Regions from separate parts of the Homo sapiens genome. Here all the other regions are linked to region 5. The links are contacts of gene promoters, found by promoter capture Hi-C in blood cells and fetal thymus (Javierre and others, 2016). All regions are on one chromosome and are shown on one strand. The core of a region is centred on a gene start or on the middle of the fragment in contact, and the rest is flanking DNA. Distances in the headings are between cores, read along the strand shown.

Region 1 (3,594 bases), core at 652-3,151, 320 kb after region 5:
TGGCCAGGCTGGGGTCGAACTCCTGGCCTCAGGTGCTCTGCCTGCCTCAGCCTCCCAAAGTACTGGGATTACAGATGTAAGCCACCACGTCAGGCCTAAGAAATATAATTAAAGTACAGGGAAAATTAAAAGAAAGTTCACAGAGAGATATCACGGCAAATGATAAATACAAAAGCCTGCCTTGTTTCCCATACCCCCTGTGTCTTAGATTCCCTGAATTTTACCTCCCAGTGGACCGTGCTTGTCCCTTTGTAATGGCGCTCCAAGCAGCACTGCTGCACACCAATTCCTGAGCTTCCCTGCTTCTTGAGCTTAGGAATAGTTGTGCTTCTATTTCCTGTTTATTTGCTCATCACTGGAGTAGCAACTGAACCACACAATTGGGATAAGTACCCTGAGGCCATTTTGGGAGTAATCTTCCATTTCTTCCTTACGTATAAAACTGCCCCTCACAGAGAAACTGTCTAGAGTGATAGGTCCAGAGTAGAGCTCTAGCTTTGCTTTACCCTTTGCAGCTGTGCTCTGAGAGCTTTGATGCAATCCCACTGCAACTGGAATCAGTGACAGAGTAGGGATGCTCAGGGAATCTGTTGGGCCACCAAAGAAAACTCACTTCTAGCTAATGCTTATCTGGGGCTATGGAAGTTGTCTAACATCCCTGGGGACAGAGTGTTTGCCCTGAAAAGGAACATTCCCTTGGCACAAAGTATCCTGTTGGCTGGATTTTATTATAAATGTGACAAGAATGCTTTTGGCCAGTAACTGGTGGTTGGGTCAGTTTGTGTTTTGTAAACCCATAAAGAGGAAAAGGCTCTCATGTGGTTGGGAGAGGTGGGAATGGATCATGCACTAAGGTCAGGTCTGGTGAAGTTAGGGAATAAGGCCAGTGTTTACGAAGAGTGATTCCTTCATGAACCCCTAAAAGATGCTCTGGAACACTACCAGTAGGATGATGTCTGTATGTAGAGGTGCAGATGACATGTTCTCGGAATACAGAGGAAGGCACCACTGCCTCTACCTTGAGAGTATATCACAGAGAAAGATTTATATTTGGACTAGATGGCTGAGAGATGAGTAGGAGTTTGATAGAAGAGAGCATGGAAACTGGCTGTACAACGGCAGAAAGGGCAGGAAAGGCTGAGGAGAATTGGCCTCTGGGGGTGGGTTATAGATATGGGCCTGGGCACCACATTCTGGAGCTTGCAATGGGGTATGTAAAAGCTTAGATGGGATGGTCTTTTCCTCTCCTCCCATGGGTTCATAGTTGGCCCACCTCACTCACTGCTGCAAACAAGCTGCCCCCATTTGAGAGAGAGCTGGAGTGGGGTCTCTAAGCCTCCAGCAACCACTTAGGAGCTAGCCTTGATGCCCCAGCAGCTAACCTCATGGAGACCCCATAGTCCATCCTATCTTGGGAAGACAATGCAGGCATGGGGAAGGTAACATTCCCCTCCAGACTCCAGAGGCTCCAAGGAGCCTCTCTCTCTCTTCAAGAAAAGAAATAGTCACTGAGCCACGGGTGGAGGTGAACATGGTTTGGGACCAACAGGCGGCTGGATGGTTTCACCTCCACGGTCATACAATGGTACTGGGAGATGAATGGGGGTAGGGCGATCTAGAATTAGTTCAACCTCAACTTCCAGTGGGGTGGTGCTTGGAGTTGACTCATTGTGGCCCCATTTAATATTCGCAGTCACCAGTTGGGGTAGGTGGGACTGTTGCTCCCATTTCACAGATCAGGACAGGATAGTTTGCTAGAGGTCACAGGACTAGTTGGGGAAAGGAAAGGGTGTCAGGTAGGATTTTAACCTTAGAGCCTCACGTTTTCTTAGGCTCTTTCAGGGGGACCTTGGGCAAATTCCGTTCTCTCTTGGTGGGGGGGGGTCTCCATTCCTTATTTGTAAATTAAGGAGTTCTTCCAGTTTGTGATTCTCTGTACTTTAACTTGGATAGGTTTTGTAAAATGGGGATTATGGGAACCCCACTATATTTAAGTAGAGTAGGTCTGGGGTGAGGCCCAGTAATCTGCAGCTTTGAACAAACCTCGGCATCCACAAAACTGGCTGAGATACTCAGGGAAAGTTTATGATGCATGAAAATCTTATTGCGAGCTGTCCAAAACACATAACACTGAGCTCCATCTGCAGAGATCCTGTTTTGATACCCTTGGTTGGACTGTGGCTGGGTAATTTGCATTTGTCAGAAGTGAGGCCAGTCACCTGGTCAACAACCCCTCCTGTCGCTCTGTGACCCTCCCCGGGCGTCCGCGGTGCTTCTTTACTTGCATCTTGTGGGAATGACATCTGCGCAGGCAGCCCCTTTTTAGCACCGCTCCTCGCACGCGAGCCCAGCCCTTAAAAACCCAGCCCAGCCCCGGGTTTGCAGATACTCAGGGCAGGGGAAGGCGCCTTTCCGCATTTGGTGTAGTCCCGCATGCTGCCATTTGATGTCGCGGGAGAACGCGCCTACAGGGATAGGGCGGGGCAAGGAGGCGAGGAAGGAAAAAAAGCGACAAGTGAAGACTGACATCCATTAAGGTCAATGGTAGCTCAATCTTCGGTTCTCTGACTCCCAAGCTTCCCATTCTCTTAGGAGGCTGCATTTGTGGCGCTAAAAAAAGGGATGGGCGTGGGAGATTCCAGGACATGTGCTCGCTGAAGATACAACTGTTAGTCCAAGGTAACTCCCACTCGTAGTGGCTCAACCCTCTTTGTCAATTCACCTTCCTCTAAGTTAACTATGGCTGCTCCACCTGTCTTTAGGGAAACCTACTCCCCATCGCGCTGGGTATTTTGGATTTTTTAAAAGCGTCGCGGGGTAAAGTCAGTGTTGTGCTTTTCCTTTTCTCAGCAGGTAAGTATTTCTGGCGCTGACAGCGGAGAGCTGCCGGGCGGGAATAGGGGTGAAGAGAGAATAGGGAGAGAGATAACAGGTGTGAAGCGTCCCTCAATGCCAGGCATCCTGCTTTGGCACCTTCAGTAAGTTTGTCTGAATCATCTTTCTATTGAATTCACTTTCTGTTTCACAGATTAGGAAACCTCAACTAAGTGGCCCAAGGACAGTCCTTGGATAATTTTAACTTGTGTCAGAAACCAAAGCCTAAGGTCTTTTATTTTGCAGAGGCTGCTTTGGCAGGATTTCAATGCATGCAGGTCCTGCGAATCACTGCTCCTCACTCACTGATCCATCCCGCTGTCCACACATTCATTCACCCATTCATTTCTTAGGGGCTCATCTGCAAGGCGTGGGGCTGGATGATACTAAAAATACAAAAGGGACTCTGATGTAAAGTAGAAGAGATTTTTTAAAAAGATTTACCCAGAATTCCGGTGCTCAGCATGGTTTCGATTTTTCCCCCCAACATACTATTGATACCTGTTATGTTCCACATAATATGATGGATTCTGAAGATACAGAGATGGGTGAGACCTATCCTTGCCTTTCAGAAGCTCGTTGTCATAGGCAAGAGTAATCTCTGAGGTTAAATTTTAGATATCTATTTTTTAACAAATTGAGCATCAACTCTATATATTCTACTGTAATTAATGTACTAAATAATTAAATATTACACACAATTTCTTATTTTTTAGATGA
Region 2 (3,082 bases), core at 207-2,706, 270 kb after region 5:
TGACAAGAAAATCTAACTATTATATTATGTATAACTGTACTATAAGCATATAAAACGTCACTGAAGGAGGTAAGAAACAACAGGGTGACTGAAATAACTTTGGGAATGAATGGAATATATAAGACTAAAAGCAGGGAAATTGCACATAGGCACTGTATTCTAGTTGATAAAATTATTTCCCATTGAGGTAGAGGTTAACAATTCTGACACTGCTATATATGTATACTTGGATTAAGCAATTAAGTGAATGTGTGAGGGATGGCAGGCATCACGCTTCCAACTGTTTGGAGTTGGAATTTACAGATAAGCAAGGCATATATACATATGTGTACATATACATATGTGGGTAAATATACACACAAATATTTCTTTGCCCTGTCAGCTGAGGGGGCCTAAAAGAAACAACACGCCACCAGCAATGAGCATATCTAGTGCCTAGATCTTGGTTTCTAATGCCATTCTTCATTAAAAGTCACCAGGTGTTTCACGGTGAGCAGGTCAATGCAAACCTACCCCAACCTACCCCCAAAGACCAAAGAAGCTGAGAGGCCAAAGAAAGAGGCTGACAAATACGGTTTCTCAGAAAGAAACATTTAATAGGAACTTACAAACAGAAGCAATGTTTCTAGCAGCCACTAAATGGCGGCACTCACCCTCCCAAAAGTACCCTTTATATAACAAGCATTTTTGGCAAAACGTGTAGCTAGTCATATCTCAGACTTTCTTGTGAAACACCTGAACACTGGGGAGGTTAGATAAGCATCTTTATGAGGGGTTATCTGTACTACCGGCACTGTTTAAAGACATTGCTGCAGAATATCTTGGTATGCAGGAGTCAAACAGCAGTCATCATGCCAGCTGCTCTTCAAGATGACATCACTCTTACAATGCAACAGGCTGTTTTCCTACACTCGACCCCTCGAAACCAGTCCTTAAAATCTTACATGCCTGCTTCTTCTGTGATAGTCCCTGGACCTAGAGGGAGGGTGCTTGATATTGTATGGCTTTAGTAGTATTGCAATGGAAATGGAAAACAGATTGGGTCCAGTGGAATTCCACAAGAGGGAGATTTGCAGGCTTGGTTGAATCATCTATATAGTCTTCATAATACCATGAAGAAGTAAAACAATGAGAAATACATAACATTAATAATTGGAGTAGTAGAAATCTAAATAAAGTAATATGATGTTTAAGATATCCCTTGCCTTAATAGCCTATAAATATGGGAAGAGTGACTATCATCTTCTGAATTTCAAGACCCATATATTCCGACAGTTTCAGTAATATGAAGATTTTGGAAATTCTAAAAGGTTTTGAGATCATTTCTAATCAAGCATTTAGCTCTTATGTTAGCATTAATTGCAGCCCCAACTTTTGCAACTTATTGACCTGCACATTTTTCTGAGCACTTACTTTCCTTATGTCAGATGTAGGGAATCATGAGATGAACAAGTTTTGGTTCCTGCACTGTAGCAAATGAATTTAGGCAAAGATATGAAAGATGAAAAAACCCTATGACTATATGACTTTTAGTGTCATGAAACTGATTACTATATAATCTTGTTATTCTTCCCATTGCTTGACTTTAAAATAGGGCAAGTTAGCCAGGTGCAGTGGCTCAAACTTGTAATCCCAGCACTTTGGAAGGCCGAGGCAGGTGGATCACGAGGTCAGGAGTTCGAGACCCGCCTGACCAACATGGTGAAACCCTGTCTCTACTAAAAATACAAAAAAAAAAAAAAAAATTTAGCTGGGTGTGGTGGCGTTTGCCTGTAATCCCAGCTGCTCAGGAGACTGAGGCATAAGAATCGCTTGAACCTGGGAGGTGGAAGTTGCAGTGAGCTGAGATCGCACCACTGTACTCCAGCCCAGGCGACAGAGTGAGACTCAGTCTCAAAAAAAAAAAAAAAATTTGGGCAAGTTATAGTCCATCTCATAGTGTTGTTAGGACTAATTTCTTCATGTGCTTAGAAAAATGCCTGGCAGATAGGAAATGGTCAATATTATTATTATTGATAAGATGACCATTTTGGAGTTTAGAAAACCATTTTCAATGCCTATGAAATAACAACTCCATAAGCCATTCCCTTAAATCCAGTAGACTGAATTCTCACAAGTCCTCATCACTCATCATTTCTACATCCTGCTGATTTACAAATACTTCTTCATACCATGGTTTATGTCTTTGCTTAATATCAAGGAGGATGGATTCCATGGTAGAGCCAAACTCAATGATACTACGAGTCTCATTTTGGTAAGTATAAGCAAAGCCAGCAGCATGCATGGCCACCAATGAACCTTTTGAATCAAACACAGGGGAGCCGGAAGCCCCAAAGAAAAATTCAGTGTCATAGGTAATCACATCAGGGTTGTGAACTATTTTCTGGAAACTTCTTTGAGTATACATATGGACATACTCTGGACTTTCTGCTTTTTTAGACTGAACACGTTCCTGACATTTCTTTGCTCGCTGACCCTGAGGGATCACAGCACAAGCATCAATCTGCTTTTTTTCTCCATATGGATGGCCAATAATATGTATCAACCCACTAAGTGGCACAGGAGTAATTCCATTATATAGTTCCATAGGTACTTGTTGTCCATTTTCCTTCAGTTTCAGGACAGCATAGTCAAGCTCTTCATTATGTATCTCAAACCAAGGTTCAACAAAAAAGTAGTTTGTTTCCTTGTCTTTTAGCTCTTCATAACCAAATGTCACCCTTACACATTGACCAATTATGGTTGCCCACTTACTTGGCTCTATTCCGTCTCCCACAATGCTATCTATTACATGCCGACAAGTTAAAATGAACAATCCTTTAAAAACAAAGCAGGTGGCGTAACCCGTAGTTGCACTGTCCCAGAATAAGTACCCAACTGAGTCACTGAGACGTACAAGAAGTTTCACTACTTTAATCGAAGAAGAATTTTTTGTTACTTTCCCAAACGTTGTTCTATGCAATTCAAATAATGTTTCCCCATTTTTTACTTTCATTTTTTTCTTGAAGTTTTCAATGATTTTTTCACTTTCTCTTTTCAAACTGGGGTACTGAGCCACGATTTGTTCTCTCAACACACAGGT
Region 3 (3,150 bases), core at 78-2,577, 290 kb after region 5:
AGATATGATGGTTTTATAAGGGGCTATTCCCACTACACTTTTATCTCTCCTGCCACCCTGTGAAGAAGGACATATTTTCTTCCCCTAATTCCATGATTGTAAGTTTCCTGAGGCCCCCCAGCCATGTGGAACTGTGAGTGAATTAAACCTCTTTCCTTTATAAATTACCCAGTTTTGGGTATTTCTTTGTAGCAGTGTAAAAACAGATTAATACAGGAAATTGGTACCAGGAGTTTGGGGCACTGCCACAAAGATACTTAAAAATGTGGAAACCACTTCGGAACTGGGTAACAGGAAGAAGTTGGGACAGTTTGGAGGGCTCAGAAGACAGGAAGATGTGGGAAAGTGTGGAACTTCCTAGAGACTTGCTGAATGGTTTTGACCAAGATGCTGAGAGTGATATGGACAACGAAGTACAGGCTGAGGTGTTCTTATATGGAGATGAGGAACTTATTTGAAACTGGAGCAAATGTCACTCTTGCTATGCTTTAGCAAAGAGACTGGAGGCATTTTACCCCTGACCTAGAGATCGGTGGAACTTTGAACTTTTATTAGTCCATTTTCATACTGCTATGAAGAAGTACCTGAGATTGAGTAATTTATAAAGAAAAAGAGGTTTAATGTACTCACAGTTCCACATGGCAGAGGAGGCCTCACAATCATGGTGGAAGGTGAAGGAGGAGGAAAGCCGTGTCTTACATGATGGCAGTCAACAGAGCATGTGCAGGGGAACTGCCCTTTATAAAACCATCAGGTCTTGTGAGACTTATTCACTATCACAAGAACAGCACAGGAAAAACCCACCCCCATGATTCAATTACCTCCCACTGGGTCCCTCCCAGGACATATGGGGATTATGGGAGCTACAATTCAAGATGAGATTTGGGTGGGGACAGAGCCACACCATATAATTCCACCCCTGGTCCCTCCCAAATCTCATGTCCTTACAATTCGAAACACAATCATCCCCTTCCAACCGTCTCCCAAAGTCTTAACTAATTGCAGCATTAATACAAAAGTCCAAATCCAGAGTCTCATCTGAGACAAGGCAAGTCCCTTCCACCTATGAGCCTGTAAAATCAAAAGCAAGTCAGTTACTTCCTAGATATAATGGGGGTAGAGGCTTTGGGTAAATATACCCATTCCAAATGGGATAAATTGCCAAAACAAAAGGGCCACAGCCCCCATGCAAGTCCAAAATCCAGCAGGGCAGTCAAATCTTAAAGCTCCAAAATAAGCTTTGACTATATGCCTCACATCCAGGTCACACTGATGCAAGAGGTGGGTTCCCATGGTCCTGGGCAGCTCTGCCCCTGTGGCTTTGCAGGGTACAGCCCACTCCCCCTTCCCCGGCTGCTTTCATGAGCTGGCATGAAAATGGACATTGGGCAAACTCACAGTCTGGCATGAAGCTTTTCCAGGAGCATGGTGCAAGCTGTTGGTGGATTTACCATTCTGGCGTTTGGAGGATGGTGGCCCTCTTCTCACAGCTACACTAGGCAGTGTCTCGGGGGGACTCTCTGTGGGGGCTACCACCTCACATTTCCCTTCTGCACTGCCCTAGCAGAGGTTCTCCATGAGGGCTCCACCCCTGCAGCAAACTTCTGCCTGGATATCCAGGCGTTTCCATACATCCTGTGAAATCTAGGTGGAGGTTCCCAAACCTCAATTCTTTACTTCTGTTCACCTGCAGGCCCAACACCATGTGTAAGGCACCAAGGCTTGGGGCTTGCACCCTCTGAGTCAATGGCCTGAGCTATATCTTGGCCCCTTTTAGCCACAGCTGGGACACAGGGCACCAAGTTCTAAGACTGCACAAAGCAGCAAGACCTGGGGTTTAGCCCATGAAACCACTTTTTCCTTCTAGGCCTCTGGGCCTGTGATGGGAGGGGCTGTCATGCAGACCTCTGGCATGCTCTGGAGACATTTTCCCCATTGTCTTGGTGATTAACATTTGGCTCCTTGTTACTTATGCAGATTTCTGCAGCTGGCTTAAATTTACCCTCAGAAAATGAGGTTTTATCTTCTATCACATCGACGGGCTGCAAATTTTCTGAACTTTTATGATCTGCTTCCCTTTTAAACATAAGTTCCAATTCCAAATGATATCTTTGTGAATGACTAAAACTGAATGCTTTTAAGAGTACCCAAGTCACATCTTGAATGCTTTGGTGCTTAGAAATTTCTTCTTCCAGATACCCTAAATCATCTCTCTCAAGTTCAAAGTTCCACAGATCTCTAGGGTGGGGCAAAATGCCACCAGCCTCTTTGCTAAAGCATAGCAAGAATGACCTTTGCCCCAGTGCCCAAGTTCCTCATCTCTGTCTGAGACCATGTCAGCCTGGAATTTATTGTCGGTATCACTATCACATTTTGGGCAAAGGCATTCGACAAGTCTCTATGAAGTTCCAAACTTTCCCACATTTTCCTGTCTTCTTCTGAGCCCCCTAACCTTTTCCAACCTCTGCCTGTTACCCAGTTCCAAAGTTGCTTCCACATTTTCAGGTATGTTTACAGCAGCACCCCACTCTCTGTGATACCAATTTACTGTATTAGTCCATTTTCATACTACTATGAAGAAATACCTGAGACTGGGTAATTTATAAAGAAAAAGGGGTTTAATGGACTCAGAGTTCTACATGGGTGGGGAGGACTCACAATCATGGTGGAAGATGAAAGAGGAGCAAAGGCACATCTTACATGGCAGCAGGCAAGAGGGAGCATGTGTAGGGGAACTCTCCTATATAACTATCAGATCTTGTGAGACTTATTCACTATTGCAAGAACAGCATAGAAAAAACTCATCCCCGTGATTCAATTACCACCCACTGGGTCCCTCCCAGGACATGTGGGGATTATGGGAGCTACAGTTCAAGATGAGATTTGGGTGGGGACACAACCAAACCATATCAGAACTTGAGAGAGATTATTTGAAATTGGAACATATGTTTAAAGGGAAGGAGAATGTAAAAGTCTGGAAAATTTGCAGCCTGACCATATGGTAGAAAAGAAAAACCCATTTTCTGGGAAGAAACTCAAGCTAGCTACAGAAATTTGCATAAGTAACGAGAAGCCAAATCTTAATTGCCAAGACAATGGGGAAAATGTCTCCAGGGCATGTCAGAGAACTTAGTGGCAGCTCCTCCCATC
Region 4 (3,515 bases), core at 53-2,552, 360 kb after region 5:
CCCAGCAACCACTTCTACATCTATGAGTTTGACAATTTTAGATTTATTTTTCATTAATAAATCATTTCTCATATGATGCTGCTGTAGTTTCCTTAGTCTGAATTAAGTATTCTTCTCTCTGTACTCTAAAATCACTTGTTTATATCTCAATTTAGTATTATCATTTTGCATATTTTGAGCAAAATAGTGTGGGTCAAAAACCAGTCTCTGTAGTCTGACTGCCTAGGTTAAGATCCTTGCTTTGAAGTCCGTTACTTCTGCAACTATAAGCAAGTTGAGCTTCAGTTTCTTCTTTTGTAAAATAAGTATGATAATAACTACTGCACAGTTCTATTAACTGTTAAATGGGATAATCCATATGATGGGACACAATTCCAGGCACACAGTGTTTCCTCAGAAAACATTAGCTAATTATTTTTGCCTGTCTATACTTTCCATGATTTTAAGTGTCTATATTATTTGTTAGTCATCTTGTTGTCTTAAGACACGTTTAGCATTATTAACTCATACTCTATCATTATGCTTTCCACAAGCACTTATGTGTATGAGCTACCCAAATATATTTTAAACTACCTAAGAGAAAGGCTTATAACGACCATTGTTTAAGAACTTATCTCCAAGAACCTCATATGGCACTATGGTTAGACTATCACTCCTCTGAGGAGTTGTAAAAAAGTAGATATACCTTTGAAACTTCAGGTCTAGTCCTCGGGTCATCTTTTGTGGCACTAAGTGACTTGTTTTCTTCAGTCTTCATGGAATTCATGATGAATTCGAAGAGAATATAACTAATATTTACTAGTGGATAAGATGGAGAAACAAGGATTGAGTTCATTCTGCCACATGAAATGTCTAAAAAAAACCCAAAAAGGAAAGATCTGTGAAATAACAACTCTCAATCATTGGACATCAGGCTGTGTGGGACCTCATCTCTGATATCTGAGAAGAAAATCATATGAGGTAAGCCCTGTGGCTATTTAGGTTACTGTATGGAGTTTCCAAGGCATATCTTAGGCAAGAGAACAGGCAGAGTCTAGCAGTTTCCCTGAGTTGAGAAGACAAGCTTGGAGTTTTGGGAGGCCAGGCTGACTGGAGCTTGTATGGCAGAGTACTAGGGAGAAGAGAGCCACAGGAGCACATAGTATCAGAGATCTGCAGTGGGTATCCCTTGAGATTTCAGCTTGGTCAATGCATGAGTGGAATAAAGCTGTTGAAAAGGAACAGGAAAAAGAAGTACCCAAAAGGAGCAGATGTAACAATTTCTGAGGCTCATACAGGACAGGGAATAGATTCAGTTCACAAAAATCTGACTAGAAAATTTCACAATTCATGAAATATCAGAGAGACTACTCTGAAAGGTATTTCTTCCACAGTGGGACAAAATTAGCCCTAGTTCTGCTCCCACCTAACAAATAAAAGCAAACTTTGAAATTATAAAATGGTTTCCATGTAAAATATCAAGGTACTAAAATAAAGTTCAAGAATATTGATGGGAAGGTAAAAATTTCTGGCACCCAAAGTTGTGAAATTAACAAAGCTTGATATCTAATAAAACAATCAGCAAGCATTTAAGAAGTGGATAAATATGACCCATAATGACTAGGAACATCAGTGAATAGAGACAGATCCAGAAGTGAGAGAGATGATGGAACTAGTAGTCAGAAATATTAAAAGTCATTACCTTGAATTTCTGGCCAAAATGGAAGAACAGGGACTGGATTTCCCCCTAGTCTGAAAGCAAAACAAAACAAAAATGGGCAAAATATATGAAACAACGCTTTGCGAGGAACTGGACATCATGCAATTAAGGATAGTGACAACTGAGATGCATCCTACAATCCACGCTAGCAGACTAACTTGAAGGATTCCAGGCCAGTGTCGCAAGGAAGGGCAGCAAGACAAAGCCAGTTGGAATTCTAGATTTGAGGAGACAAAGCGGAGAGACCAGGGTGGCAAGAGGTCACGGGCCACAGACCCTGGTGGGAGACCTGCACAGAGAGGGAACTCCGGATATATGAAGAGGGTTCCCCTAAAGCATTCAGCTGCGTACTGATCAGAGCAGCAGCTGAGAAAACTTCCCAAGGCCAGGAAAGAACCACCCTAAAACTGTCATAGTCTAACTTTCCTCCAACCCTCTCCCTGTAACCCTTTTGGGGATCCCCGTTTTCTCATTTCTAGATTAAGGTCTTTGGCTCAGATGAAACTTTTATTGTTCGTGTGAATTGGTTCCTCTGAGCTTTTTAAAAAGGATTCCAGATCCCACCCTCACAGACTCTGATTCAGTATGTCGGGGTGTGGCTATGGAATCTGCATTTTTACCTGCCTCACTCCACAACCCCTGCCTCAAACTCGCACCAAGTTCTTTGAACAGCTGCCTCTGTCACCGCAGGATGACCTCAATGCTTTCCTAAAGCCCCAGAACCAATTAAGGTAACCTGTGCTTGAAGCTGTGCTTGCTTACAGAAACAGAGACTGGATGTCAGTAACCACCGTGCTACAAGATGGGAAACGAACTTAGAAGCGCTACCCTAACCTGAATCCTCAATTGCTAATTACCATACCTCAATCTGTGCCTACGGGAGAAATGCAGCTTGCTAGGCACATGTAGTGTTGGGCGGCAACAGCAAATAGGAGACTGCCACACTCAGCTGGTTCTGGAAAGCCCCATCTCTTTCCAGGAATCCTTGCTTTCCAACTACGTGCCCTAAAAGACCTTAAGGAGCACCCCCACACTACACCCCAGGCACTTTGAGCAGGAGCTCTCCTACTCCATTCCTTGATCAGTGAATAGTTTCTGCTCTGCTTAACCGAACCTGGTCTCCTTCTACGGGCGAGAAAGGCACCGGGTAGGGAAAGGACCCACCAGGGTCAAACGACCCTCTTGAGATTCAGGAACACCCAGATGATCTCCAAGTATCTTTTCAGGAGTACAACTCTTGGCCTTTGAAGCTGAGACGGGAAGGGAATTACAACGGGCGGCTGCCCAGCTCCCCATCCAAAACCTCCTTGACTTTGGGCTGAGGTCCTTCTGCCTACTGCCCTTGTCAGCCATCCTCTTAAGAACTCCAGGTCCGACCCGGGAAAAGAAAAACCACTCATAGAACTGGAGAGTCTGTCCACACGGTGCACGTGCCCGTCAGTGCCCACCGCTCTGGATTCACAGGTGCTGGAAAGTCTGCTCTCTTATATCTCTCAGCTGAACTTTTCCCGCCTAGAAGGGCTCGCCCGCGTGCGGCAGGAGCCTGGGAATTGACACTCTCACTGGCCAATGGACGAAGAGTCTCTGGAGGCTGTTTTTCCCTCATTGGATGTAAATGACTCATCTCTCATCCACTTTGGAAGCCAATTATCATCACTCCAGACAGTGAAGGGAAGGGAAGGATGAGAGCACACGCCTGCGCGCGCGCGGGTGGGTCTGAAGGCCGGGCGGAGGGCACTGCGCGCCCACCCGCACCCCTCCTTATTTGTCTGGATGACCCTTCCCGGTCTCAGTGATCCCCTCTCCGCGCCACTCA
Region 5 (3,246 bases), core at 34-2,533:
TCTACCTTTTAAATTTCCCAGATCTTAACTCAGTATCAAACTCTTTCATAGTTAGTTGGGGTTTACTCTTTCAGCATCAGAATTTCCTAGGACAGTTTATCTTCAAACTTAGATAAGAATGTTTCTTTTGAGGATGGACTTCCTTGCCTTTTCATGTTCACAGTTGATTCTTGAAGACATTTACCTCCGTTTCTGTCAACAGTCTTAGTTGCTAAATTTCTTCCCTAAATTAAGCCTGTTACCTTGTAAGTCAAGAGTCTCAGTAATTATACCCCTTTATATAGAAGACATTTCTCTCATTTAATTTTTTTTCTTTTGAGACTGAGGATTGCTGACTTAGTCTCCATGAAATAGATGAATTCATTTTTTATAAACTTTATTTCTGAAGAAAACATTTAAAAAAACAGGAAATCAATGTTTTGAAACATCAGACTTTCAGGGCTGGAGGAATTCTTGGAGAGTGAGCCCAATTCACTCAGGCTGGAGGGGTTAATTGACTTGCCCACAGTGACTCATCCAGGTAGTGGCATTGCTGGTAGTAGCACCCAAAATATTAAAAAGAGAAAAGAAGAGCCCCATCAAGCCCTTCATCCCATCCAGCCTCATTAAAAAAAATAAAGAGAAAAGAAATCTTTTCATCGTGATGCAAATAAGTCACAATAAAAAGATAGAAAGGAAAGACATATTTTTGGCCATGACCCAAGAAACAGAGTTAATGACATCATTAGTTTACATTCATTGAGTGATTTCTGTTTGTTAGGCACTGTGCTAAGCCTTTCTTATTCACAGCTTATTTAATTATCACAACTCTGTTGAGGTAGGTATTCTTGTTACACCAGTTTTACAAATGAGGGAGTTGATAAGTTTAAGACATTAAACAACATTGAACATGTTTATATTGATAAAAGGGCAGAGCCAGAATTTAAACCCAATTCTCAGAGTTGGAAACATGTGTTTCTAACCAGTATATTTCAGCACAAGGCTTGGTGTGTTTATGTGTGATTTACTTCTGATGAAATTTCTTTTAAGCAAAAGGCATCTACTAACCCAGCAGGGAGTCTTCCTGGACTCAAATCAGGGAAAGCTCAGAGAAGAATAGGTAGGGGGATGGAAAGAGGCTCCCGTGATGAGCGGTTGGCTCTTTTCGCCACCACTCCAGGGAACAATTAGTGCTCAGAAATGTTTAGCTCTAATGATTGCTGGGCTTTTTATGTTGGACCCTGGAGTGAGTGGCAGAGGGCAGCCTCTTGGGGAAAGAATGTGGCTACCTCTGCCCATTAAAATAATGAACTCCCACAGCCCATTTATTTGGAAGACTTGTTAACAAAGGAGCGGAGATTCCAGAAGCATGGTTTACTATTTACATGAGGCCAAAGCATAAGAAATTGATGGAACGAGAAACCAGCCATGGAGCAGTGGGAAATGCAGATGATCTGGTTTGCAAAAGATGTTATGGCAACAAAGCAATCAATATTTCTTCTCTTGTAGCACAAGATTGCAGGACCCTTCTGCCCAATGCAATCCAGTAAGTCCAGCTCATTCCCTCCTACCTCATCCATTCAGCAGCAAATCACAACTATGCATTTACAGCCTATTCTACCTTTTATTTGTAAAATGGGGCGAGAAACGCTGCCACTTCTTGAGTCTATTAGGAGAATTAAATGGGTTTATAAAAATCAAGTCTTTCAAACAGTACCTCGCACACAATAAGTACTAAATAAGTGTTTGATTATATTATTATATTATGATCGTTATATGATTATTGTTTGTGATTAATTATATATTATGTGTTTTGTTCTTATAATAGTAACACACCAAATATAGTAAGTCATAGGCCAAACCCTTCTGGTAAACTCTGAGGATAAGTGGTGGAAAAAAATCTATTTATTCAGCAAAATATTTAGTGGGCACCTATGTCCCAGGCCCTGTTCTTTGTACTTATGATAAAACTGTCTTTGCAAAATTATAACTGAGGAAATTATGACAGTCAAAGAAATCATATCTACCTGACTCCATCTTGCTTCTAATCTTTAAGCTGTCTTTGTCCATTCTTGGGCATAAGCTGAAGTAACTTTGGGAAGGAATTCAGTTCATGGTTTGACTCTGAAACAAAATTAATAGCAGCTCTTTCCTGAAGAGACCCCCCTTTTGCCTAGGGACCAGTCTGTCTTTGCAGGACTAACAAATTAGCTGCAAGATTAGAAATTACTGTTTAGGGGTCATGCAGCCTCTGACTCCAAGAGTATAAACCTTCCCAAATTGGCCCCGGGGATAACATCACTACTGTAAAACCTAAGATCAGTGCTTGAGATATTTTGCAGACCCTGCACTAGATGGATCAGCTGACACCACCCAGACCCGTTAACTGGCTCAACCAGTTCTGCCATCCCACCCAGGAACAGAAGACAGCAAGAAAAACTCACTTCGACCCATTTGATTCCATCTCCAGCCTAACCAATCAGCATTCCCCACTTCCCAAGCCCCTACTCGCCAAATTATCTTTAAAAACTCTGATCCCTGATGCTCAGGGAGACTAATTTGAGTAATAATAAAACTCCAGTCCTCCTGCACAACCAGCTCTGCCTGAATTACTCTTTCTCCATTGCAATTCCCCTGTCTTGATAAATGAGCTCTGTCTAGGCAGTGGGCAAGGTGAACCCATTGGGTGGTTACAAGGATAGATCAGGAAACAGAATGGGCAAAACTCCCTGCCTGTCTTTGAGTAACTTACATTCTGGTAGGGAAGATTTCACCAAGATAAGAGATACCAAATTCCTCTTACTTCCTTTTTGATAGGATTAAATAGATTGATGTTTTAGTGAAGATCAATCTAGGCTCGTCTTGGTTTTGACTGCTTGACCAGTGATTTGAGGGGAGATTAGAAATTTGTAAAAAACACAAAGCTAGGAGCAGTTTTTAATATGATAAGTGACACAGAACCACAGTTACCATTGGGTGCAAACATGCATGGGCAAACAAATTCCATACAAATAATAAAATACAGCAACCTTAATTTCACCACTGAGTCTTTCTCAGGGCATTTCTGCCTCTTTATACGCATTTGTATTTCCTAATTTTTAAAAAAAATTTCCTTTTTTTTTTGAGACAGGGTCTCACTCTGTCATCCAGGCTTGAGTGCAGTGGCACAGTCATGGTCATGGCTCACTGCAGCCTAGACCTCCTGGGCTCAAGTGATCCCCCTCACCTCAGCCTTCCAAGTAGCTGGAACTACAGGCATGTGCCACC

What was found. Contacts are between HindIII fragments. The CHiCAGO score rates a contact against its expected background, and 5 or more counts as called.
Region 1: a fragment that was not itself captured here is called in contact with the fragment with the promoter of OR5A2 in region 5 in 1 of 17 cell types (M1 macrophages); the score reaches 5.5 in M1 macrophages.
Region 2: a contact is called between a fragment that was not itself captured here and the fragment with the promoter of OR5A2 in region 5, in 7 of 17 cell types (monocytes, M1 macrophages, naive B cells and 4 more). The highest score is 17.1, in monocytes.
Region 3: a fragment that was not itself captured here is called in contact with the fragment with the promoter of OR5A2 in region 5 in 4 of 17 cell types (M1 macrophages, monocytes, naive B cells and 1 more); the score reaches 10.6 in M1 macrophages.
Region 4: a contact is called between a fragment that was not itself captured here and the fragment with the promoter of OR5A2 in region 5, in 1 of 17 cell types (M1 macrophages). The highest score is 5.0, in M1 macrophages.

The regions. Positions count from the first base shown.
Region 1 is chr11:59,101,250-59,104,843 of GRCh38, reverse strand. LOC105369315 (a long non-coding RNA gene) reads left to right here. Exons shown (of 3, transcript XR_007062680.1): 1 at 1-3,594. Among named protein-coding and RNA genes, the nearest start is that of FAM111B, 4.2 kb to the left of the region's middle. RefSeq lists enhancers at 2,194-2,313, 1,824-2,324. The HindIII fragment of the contact is 1,355 bases long and covers 1,224-2,578 here.
Region 2 is chr11:59,152,533-59,155,614 of GRCh38, reverse strand. It overlaps FAM111A (FAM111 trypsin like peptidase A), which reads right to left. Exons shown (of 6, transcript NM_001312909.2): 6 at 576-3,082. The coding sequence ends at 2,111. Among named protein-coding and RNA genes, the nearest start is that of FAM111A, 11 kb to the right of the region's middle. RefSeq lists an enhancer at 2,903-3,032. The HindIII fragment of the contact is 3,767 bases long and covers 1-3,082 here.
Region 3 is chr11:59,130,265-59,133,414 of GRCh38, reverse strand. No RefSeq gene overlaps it. Among named protein-coding and RNA genes, the nearest start is that of FAM111A-DT, 11 kb to the left of the region's middle. The HindIII fragment of the contact is 174 bases long and covers 1,241-1,414 here.
Region 4 is chr11:59,063,144-59,066,658 of GRCh38, reverse strand. No RefSeq gene overlaps it. Among named protein-coding and RNA genes, the nearest start is that of GLYATL1-AS1, 6.4 kb to the right of the region's middle. The HindIII fragment of the contact is 474 bases long and covers 1,066-1,539 here.
Region 5 is chr11:59,424,450-59,427,695 of GRCh38, reverse strand. OR5A2 (olfactory receptor family 5 subfamily A member 2) reads left to right here and starts at 1,283. Exons shown (of 2, transcript NM_001001954.2): 1 at 1,283-1,525. The HindIII fragment of the contact is 12,260 bases long and covers 1-3,246 here.